Linked DNA regions of Homo sapiens: regions 2 and 3 are each linked to region 1. The links are contacts of gene promoters, found by promoter capture Hi-C in blood cells and fetal thymus (Javierre and others, 2016). All regions are on one chromosome and are shown on one strand. Each heading gives the region's core, a stretch centred on a gene start or on the middle of the fragment in contact. The rest is flanking DNA. Distances are from core to core; before and after follow the strand shown.

Region 1 (2,726 bases), core at 135-2,634:
AGGCTAGTGTGACAGGAGCTTAACAGAGCCGGGAGAGTGGTAGTAGGTTACATTAGCCATGTATTTTTATATCAACGGCCTAACCCTTAAGCCAGGCAGCTGTTGGGCAAATTCGTGTTCCCAGTCTTCAGGGGCCTTGCTCAGAACAGGTAGCTGGTTTAGCACTGTCAGTCAGAGGAGGGACTGGGCCTGATCCTTTCCCCTGCGTCTGGTGCCAAGGACAGGGTAGGGCACAGAGGTTTCAGTCAAGATCTGCTGACAGCACGCTTGAGAAGAGAACAGGAAGTGCAGGCTTTGTTGAAGGAGGCTCAGGCGTGGCTCTGTCTTCTTTGGCGCACTCATTCTCAAGTCGCTGACACCTCCTCCACCAGAGAGGTAGCTGGGAGAATGAGATGCAGGGAGGAAGCATTTACAGGCCCCACCGAAAAACCTTAAAGGGCTGAGAGCTTGAGGGCAGGTAGGAAAAAGGGCTGTGAGAGCTAAGGGAGGGCATCCCACTTAGCTTGGAGGGGAAGGGAGGCGGGGTCGGGAAAGCAGATGGCACCCTTTAGCCCAGACTCAAGGAATGTGTAGGGGAATTTTAGCTAGAGTGGTTTGGACATTTCATTTTGCTTTCTGGCATCATCATTTCCTCAGAAAACACTCGCAGGCCCCAGTGGCCCTCGTGGGCCTCCCCCGGGGCGGGTCTTAGCTTCACTCGGCAACCCTCTGCAAAAGAGCAGGCCCTCCCAGGAGCGCCGAGTCCTGTCTGCAGTTTGCTGATTTTCCCACCAGGGGCCGCTGCGCATGGGCGACGAAGCGCGCGGGTTCCCAAGCCGCAGAGAGGCGGAAGCCGATTGGTTGTCAGGCGAGGCGCGAGGGCGGAGCCTGGGAACTGGCCGGGAGTTGGGGGCTGGGAGCTCGCCCCCGGGCCGAGCCGGGTCAGGCTGTTGTCGCCTCAGGCAGCTCCTGGGAGGCTAACGTCGTGTCCTGGGCCTCTGTTTAGACAGCTCTAGAACTGAGGCGAGTGGAGCAGCACCAAGGCCCGGAGATCGGGGCAGGGCAGCTGCTGTCGCCGCCGCCGCAGGCCTGAGTTACCTGAGTAACTGCGGGTCAGGGACCCGCCCGACGGCCCGCGGTTGGCGCTGGAGACTCTCGGTGGGGAAAGGGAAGCTGGGACTTGATCCTTTGCGCGGGATCCTGGCAAAGACTAGCGCGGGCCGGGGGTCCGGGAGAGCCCGCTAGGGGCGGGGATTCCGGGGAGCCGTCTTCACCGGTTATTCCGGGATCCAGCTGGGCGCTGGGGCTGGCCCGGGCTTCGCTGGGGACCGGGCGGCGCGGGGCGGGCGCGGAGACGCACGCCCCCGCCCGCCCCGGGCCCGCCCCGCGCCGCCCGCCCGCCTGGAAGCCGCTGTCCTGGGCCTGGCCGGTGTGCGTCCGCCTGCTGGACCTGGGCACCGCCAGCCGCCTGGGCACGGGACTGGGCGGGGGCGCTGACCTCGGCCTAGGAGGCCCAGGATCCCGGAGACGCCCGCGCCCTCAGGACCCTGCGGGTCGCACGCCCTCCCCAGCTTCTGCTGCTCGCCGCTCTTCGGCAGGGCGAGGTCAGGTGCCCCCTTCTCGCCTCTCTTCTCTTCTCTTCTCTTCCTCCTCCACTTCTGTGCCCGCGGAGACTCCGGCCGCCCCCTTCCGCAGGGGTGTAGTAATCTGCGGAGCTGACAGCAGCCCCGCAGCCACCCTGCCCGAAGTCTCCGGAAGCGGCACGAGCTCAGGCCGCCGCAGCCCCGGCGGACCCACTGTTGGACCTGAGGAGCCAGCCCTCCTCCCGCACCCAAACTTGGAGCACTTGACCTTTGGCTGTTGGAGGGGGCAGGCTCGCGGGTGGCTGGACAGCTGCGGAGCCGCGAGGGCATCTTGCCTGGAGACCGTCGGCTGCACTCCCGGGCTCCTGGCTTTGCCTCTGGGATCCCGAGGTGTCCACATCAGACGCATGTTGACTGAGACCTAGAGTCATGGATGTATGCGTCCGTCTTGCCCTGTGGCTCCTCTGGGGACTCCTCCTGCACCAGGGCCAGAGCCTCAGCCATAGTCACAGTGAGAAGGCGACAGGAACCAGCTCGGGGGCCAACTCTGAGGAGTCCACTGCAGCAGGTAAGGCCTTGCTGCGGGCTGGACTGGGCTGGAGGCTTTGGCTCAGGACTGAGTGGCCCGAAGTGGGCAAGTTGAAATCTAGGTTTGTACATGTGAGGTTCATGGAGGATTCACACATGGCACTGCCTGTTCCAAGTAGTTCAAGAAGTTCTTTCTGGTCAGTAGTCATGGCAAATGCCTGTATCTTTCCTGAACAACTTTCCTCATCCCCCGCACTCAGGATTTTTTTTGTTGGCAGTAAGAAGAAGCCTTTGGGGCAACTTGACCTTTTAGATCAGCAAGGAAAGACCCCATCTTAGGCCTACTTGTCTGGAAGAATGGCCTGGTGAGATGATAAGTTCATTGCTCCTATTCGGTTTTAGTACTGAGCAGCATGGGGGAGGTTGGGGCCACTTATGTTGGAAAGGGAAAGTTAAGGCTGGGCCACCTCTGTTGCCTGAAAGCCTGGTGTTCAGGTGTGCCTATTCCAACAACCGTGGGAACCCTAGTCCCACCCTTCCCTTAGGTAGTCTTGTCTCTTTGCTGTGCGCATTTGAAATATCCAGGCGGTTTCTTAGATGGAATCCTATTTACAACTAGGGTGTTAAATGGCCTTT
Region 2 (2,726 bases), core at 98-2,597, 290 kb after region 1:
GCTGACCTGTTTGTGTGGGCTAGACTGGACATCGCAGGGTAAACCTGACCTATGTGCCTGTACAGCTTGGGGATCTCAGGAAAGGACCTCACTTGTGTTTGGGACTGACTGGACTCTAGAACCCAGCCTGCTACCTGGATTAGACTGGAAGCCTCAAGGATGACCTGTGTATTAGGTCTGAATAAACTTCATGTCAAGCTTAGGCTATGTTTGGGAGAGACTGGGCTTCAGGGAAGTGCCCGCCTGTTTATTTGTTTCAGACTGGGTGTTGTTCAGACAGGGCAGGTTGTGGTCTGTATGACTTGCTCTATAAGACTACCTTAGTGAAGCCCCATACATCCAGATATTAGTTGGGACTTCCTCAGGAGTTGGGAGGAGGACAGAGAAAATAAACCAAGAAGGATAAATAGGTAAATGCAATTTTATTACTGGGGGTGAAAACAAAGAGCATTCTAAGAATTTAACAAGCAACAGTTGACCAACAGGGAACCTGCTGTTGAGCCCGTAATCTGCTGAGGAAATTTGAGCCTGTCCCTGAGTACTGCCTGCTTATCTCTTCTCAGAGATCATAGCCCCAACTTTCGAAGGTAGTAAAGTCCCTCACCCTGGCGGTTTCCAGTCTCATGTTCTGCAGCCTCTTTGGCTTCTCCCCAGCCTTCTGGGCTGTTTCCTTTTCACAGAGCATCTTTTCTACATGTTGCTGGATCTCCCTAGTCCTCACCCCATAAATGACAGGATTCAAGGCTCCTGGAAGCAGCAAGTATATGGCACTGAGTAGATTCTGGACATTCTGGGACACAGTCTTGGCTACTCAGAAGGTGATGGAAGTGGAAAGACCAGAGACGTAGATGGAGAGGATGACCAGTAGGTGGGAGCCACACGTGTGTAAGGCCTTGGCTTGGGCTCCCCAAGAAGAGATCCGGAAGGCAGCATAGATGATGTGGGTGTAGGAGGTCCCCAGCAGGGCCATATCAGAGATTACAGTGACCAAACACATAGCCAGCCCCAGCCAGTTGTTGAAGGTCAGGTCTCCACAAGCTATGCTCAGCAGTGCAATGCACTCACAGGTGAAGTGTCGAATCACTGCTGTCCGGCAGAATCGGGCTTTTGCAGTTAGTACTACCAAGGGCACTGTCACTCCCAGGCTCTGTGTCAAGGCAAGAATGGCCAGCAGTCCCAGCAGCTGGGAGGTCATCAGGTCAGAATAGCAGAGTGGGTGGCAGATGGCTACGTAGCAGTCCAGGGCCATGGCCAGAGGAAGTTGTAGTCCAGGAGGAGGGTGAAGTAGATAAAGAACACCTAGGCCAGGCGGCCATGCAGCGATATGGGGTTAGCATAATATACAAAGCCCTCCAGCATTTTAGGCATCACGGCTGTGGCAGCACGAATATTGACAGCCAGGAGCACAGTGATGAGCATACACGTAGGCTGATGCAGATTTTGCCGGGCAACCACTGTGTGGATGACCAGGGCATTGGCAGAGATGATGGTCACAAAGAGGAAGACAAGAGGCAGGACCAGAAGGGGCCACCACTCTCGAAGTCCAGGGAAACCCACCAGGAAGAACTTGGTGCAGGAGATGTTGAAGGTGCTTGTATTTCCATCCTCACCCATTAGCTTTGGCCCTGGGCCGGCACCAAGAGTGGGGATCAGAGACTGTTAGAACAAAATGGTCAATTTTAAAAAGACTTTTTCTGTTGTAGACACTGAGGAATTTGTGATAAAAGCCTACTTCTTCATGTATGTATTCCTTTGGGGCACAGATAAGTACTAAGCCGGGTGTTGTAGGAACTACACAGTTACCTACAATCTTTGTAGGTAACAATCTTTGTCCTCAGGGAGCTCTTGGCCTCATGTGTGTGAAATGTAAATGTAAACTTACAAGATACTTGTTTACTTGTAATGTTCCAGATATTTGCTCAGTAAAAGATTAGGAGGAGAAGTAGGTGTAGTATACACAGGGGAAAAAGAGTGACAGCCAGAGACAAAACAAGAAAGGTTAAAAGAAGACTCTTGATTCAGAGGAAGAGAAAGTATTAGAAGAATCTTTGATCCAAGGAGTCTGGGAAGGCCCAAGTGGGGCTTAACAGGGAGAGAAGAACCAGCCGGGAATGATGGCATCACTTGTGTGCTTGGGACACACTGTGGCAAGGAGAGATGGAAGTTGCTGAGGAAGAATTCTGGTCTTCCTGGATCACAAGAAACAGGCTGCAGAGACTGCTTCCTTCCTAAGTCCTCGTAGATTGGCTGTGGTGCCTGCTGCCTGGCCTTGTCCTCAGTGTCATGGATGATGAGTTTGCTTTCCTTTCAGAATGTAGGTTCCAGGAGGGCAGGGATAATAGCATGCTTCTGGTGGGCTCACTGGAGCTCCAAGCACAGAGTCACCATAGAGGCGCAGGACAGGCTTGAGAATTGCTTGTTGAGTAGGTGCATGAGGAACAGGAAGAAGACAATAGGAGGCTGAACATTTAATTGGGATCTTACAGCAGTTGTTTCAAAGCTTTGGCCAGGGGCCAGGACTGTTCTACATACCTGATACTCCACAAACTAGGCAGCATTCAACAGTCTTCAAGCTTTTTTTTTTTTTTTTTTTAAGAGGTAGGGTCTTGCTATTTTGCCCAGGCTGTTTTTGAACTCCTGGACTCAAGCAGCCCTCTTGCCTCAGCCTCCCAGGCATGAGCCACTGCGCCTGGTCACTTCAAGCATTCTGAATCTCAGCAGCAATA
Region 3 (2,726 bases), core at 123-2,622, 270 kb after region 1:
GTTGGAAGACATCGACATATATTGAGGTAACTATTATGCAAGACAGATTATATTATAGAGGCTAGAGTGACATTTTTAAAATAAAAATCAGATAATGTCATTTGTCTGCACAAAACTACTCTTTGGCTTGCTAACCCATGCAGAATTCCTTTTTTTTCGGGGGGCGTCAAGATTTCACTCTGTTGCCCAAGCTGGGCTGTGGCTCACTGCAACCTCAACAGAGTTCTTTCTTTTTGCAAATTGAGCTATAATTCACTCTTTTTAAAATGTACAATTCAGTGTTTTTTTTCTTTTCTTTTCTTTTCTTTTTTTTAGTATATCTGCAAGTCTGTGCAACCATTACCACTATCTAATTGTAGTATTTATTTATTTTATTTTTTTTTTTTTGAGACAGAGTCTTGCTCTGTCACCAGGCTGGAGTGTAGTGGCTCGATCTCGGCTCACTGCAACCTCCGCCTCCTGGATTCAAGCGATTCTCCTGCCTCAGCCTCCCGAGTAGCTGGGACTACAGGCGCGTGCCACCACACCCAGCTAATTTTTGTATTTTTAGTAGGGACGAGGTTTCACTATGTTGGCCAGGATGGTCTCAATCTCTTGACCTCGTGATCCGCCCACCTCAGCCTCCCAAAGTGTTGGGATTACAGGCGTGAGCCACCGTGACCGGCCTGTAGTACATTTTTATCACTGTAGATAATGAAACCCTTTATCCATTAGCAGTCACTCCCTGTTCCCTTCTTCCCTCAGCCCTTGACAACCACTAATATATTTTCTGTCTCTAGATTTGTGGACATTGTGGACATTCCATAGGAATGGAGTCATATAATATGTGGCCTTTTGTGTCAGGCTTCTTTCACTTAACATGTTCTTTTATTCATGTTGTAGCATGTATCAGTACTTCATTCCTTTCCATCCAGAGTTCTTACAGTGCCCTACAAGGTCCTACACAACTGGATAACCCACCTCATCTGCGGTTACTTTCCCCTTTGTTCACTTTGCTCCAACCCTATTAATTTTCTTGCTTTTTCTCAAACATGTCAACCATGCTCCTACCTCAGGATTTTTGCTCCTTCTTCCCTCTTGAATGTTAAAATGCACCCCCTCTTCCCATAGCCACATGATTTGCTTTCTAACCTGTTCAGTTCTTTGTTCATATGTAACATTTTCAATGAGGTCCTTCTTGACAATTCTGTTTAAAAATTATACCCCCTTCATCTTTATCCCCAGTACTCTCTGTCTTCTTTTCCTGCCTATTTTTCTTCCTGGCATTTATTAGACTTCTGTGATTCAAGCTATATTTAAAAAAATGGGTATTTGGCAACATGTGTAGAATGGAGTAGATGTGAAGGGCATCAAGAGTTCAACTGGGAAACTTTCAGTAGTCCATGTGAGAGAAGTTAAGACTTTGGCTTGGGATAGTCATAATCAAAATGGAAAAGAAAGTGTATTCATTCAACATTATCAAGACTTACTGTGTGCCAGATGTGTTGCTAGTGCTAAACATATAAATATAAATAAGATGATCCTTGTGTGAAGAAGCTCACTGCCTCGTGTAGTGGAGAAATCACTGGAAGAGCTTTTTCAGAAATCACAAATTGAGATCCATTGTTGCTAAGGGCTTGTCAGAATATCAGTGAAGGTGAGGTGGACGTGTGTGTTTTGAAGAACTCTGCAGTGATGGAAATGTTCTGTATCTGATGGCTATTGAGCACTTGAAATATGACTAGTGCAACTGAGAAACTCAAATTTTATTTCATTTTAAATAGATATATGTAGCCAGTGGCTACCATATTGCAGGGCACTCATCTACTGAATAATGAGATAGGTATATGTAAAAAGCTAATTATAACATAGTGTGATATATGTCTGGTAATAGAGCTGTGTACTGTGGAACATAGGGTTCTCTCTCTCTCTTACCTATTTTGCTGATGCATGTTATAACTAACACATATGACTAGGTATTGAAGAAATAGAATCAGTGGGATTTAGAAATGGACTGATGAATGATGAAGAGGGAGAAGTCAAATATAAAAATTTAAAATTTTAATGTCTGAGTATTAGAGGCTCACATGGTGGTGTAATTGACACAGGAAGTAGAAATAAAAATTGTGTGATTCTTGACCTGTTTTTTGCATTCCAGGTTGCTGTTTGTAATTTGGCTTCCCTGGCCCTGAATATGTATGTCACATCAGAACACACATACGACTTTAAGAAGTTGGCTGAAGTCACTAAAGTCGTTGTCCGAAACTTGAATAAAATTATTGATATAAACTACTATCCTGTACCAGAGGTATGAATAGATTTCTCTGCTTATTGGTAATTATTGAAATCCAAATTGAAAGGAATCAATCATGATCTTCAAGTCATCATTTAAATGGTTATCAATAAAATGGTTTGAGAAAAAGAGGTAGTCTGTCTCATTTGGTACAGAATGTTGCTTTTCCTGTTCAGTAATGTTTTCTCCTTTTCTTTAAAATCTGTTGACACAAAGGCATGCCTATCAAATAAACGCCATCGCCCCATTGGAATTGGGGTACAAGGTCTGGCAGATGCTTTTATCCTGATGAGATACCCTTTTGAGAGTGCAGAAGCCCAGTTACTGAATAAGCAGATCTTTGAAACTATTTATTATGGTGCTCTGGAAGCCAGCTGTGACCTTGCCAAGGAGCAGGGCCCATACGAAACCTATGAGGGCTCTCCAGTTAGCAAAGGAGTAAGTATATGGATGG

What was found. Contacts are between HindIII fragments. The CHiCAGO score rates a contact against its expected background, and 5 or more counts as called.
Region 2: a fragment that was not itself captured here is called in contact with the fragment with the promoter of STIM1 in region 1 in 1 of 17 cell types (total CD4 T cells); the score reaches 5.0 in total CD4 T cells.
Region 3: a contact is called between a fragment that was not itself captured here and the fragment with the promoter of STIM1 in region 1, in 1 of 17 cell types (non-activated CD4 T cells). The highest score is 5.7, in non-activated CD4 T cells.

Annotation. Positions count from the first base shown.
Region 1 is chr11:3,854,280-3,857,005 of GRCh38, forward strand. It overlaps STIM1 (stromal interaction molecule 1), which reads left to right and starts at 1,385. Exons shown (of 13, transcript NM_001382567.1): 1 at 1,385-2,130. The coding sequence starts at 1,992. It overlaps STIM1-AS1 (STIM1 antisense RNA 1), which reads right to left and starts at 1,299. Exons shown (of 2, transcript NR_183662.1): 1 at 1,078-1,299; 2 at 44-379. It overlaps MIR4687 (microRNA 4687), which reads left to right and starts at 1,783; the gene lies at 1,783-1,862. RefSeq lists enhancers at 361-430, 640-1,585, 1,801-2,010, 2,161-2,240, 2,251-2,300 and silencers at 771-820, 1,301-1,360, 1,421-1,580. The HindIII fragment of the contact is 6,805 bases long and covers 1-2,726 here.
Region 2 is chr11:4,145,682-4,148,407 of GRCh38, forward strand. It overlaps the pseudogene OR55B1P. Among named protein-coding and RNA genes, the nearest start is that of LINC02749, 40 kb to the right of the region's middle. The HindIII fragment of the contact is 2,302 bases long and covers 197-2,498 here.
Region 3 is chr11:4,124,547-4,127,272 of GRCh38, forward strand. It overlaps RRM1 (ribonucleotide reductase catalytic subunit M1), which reads left to right. Exons shown (of 19, transcript NM_001033.5): 13 at 2,138-2,287; 14 at 2,489-2,710. Among named protein-coding and RNA genes, the nearest start is that of RRM1, 31 kb to the left of the region's middle. The HindIII fragment of the contact is 4,129 bases long and covers 1-2,726 here.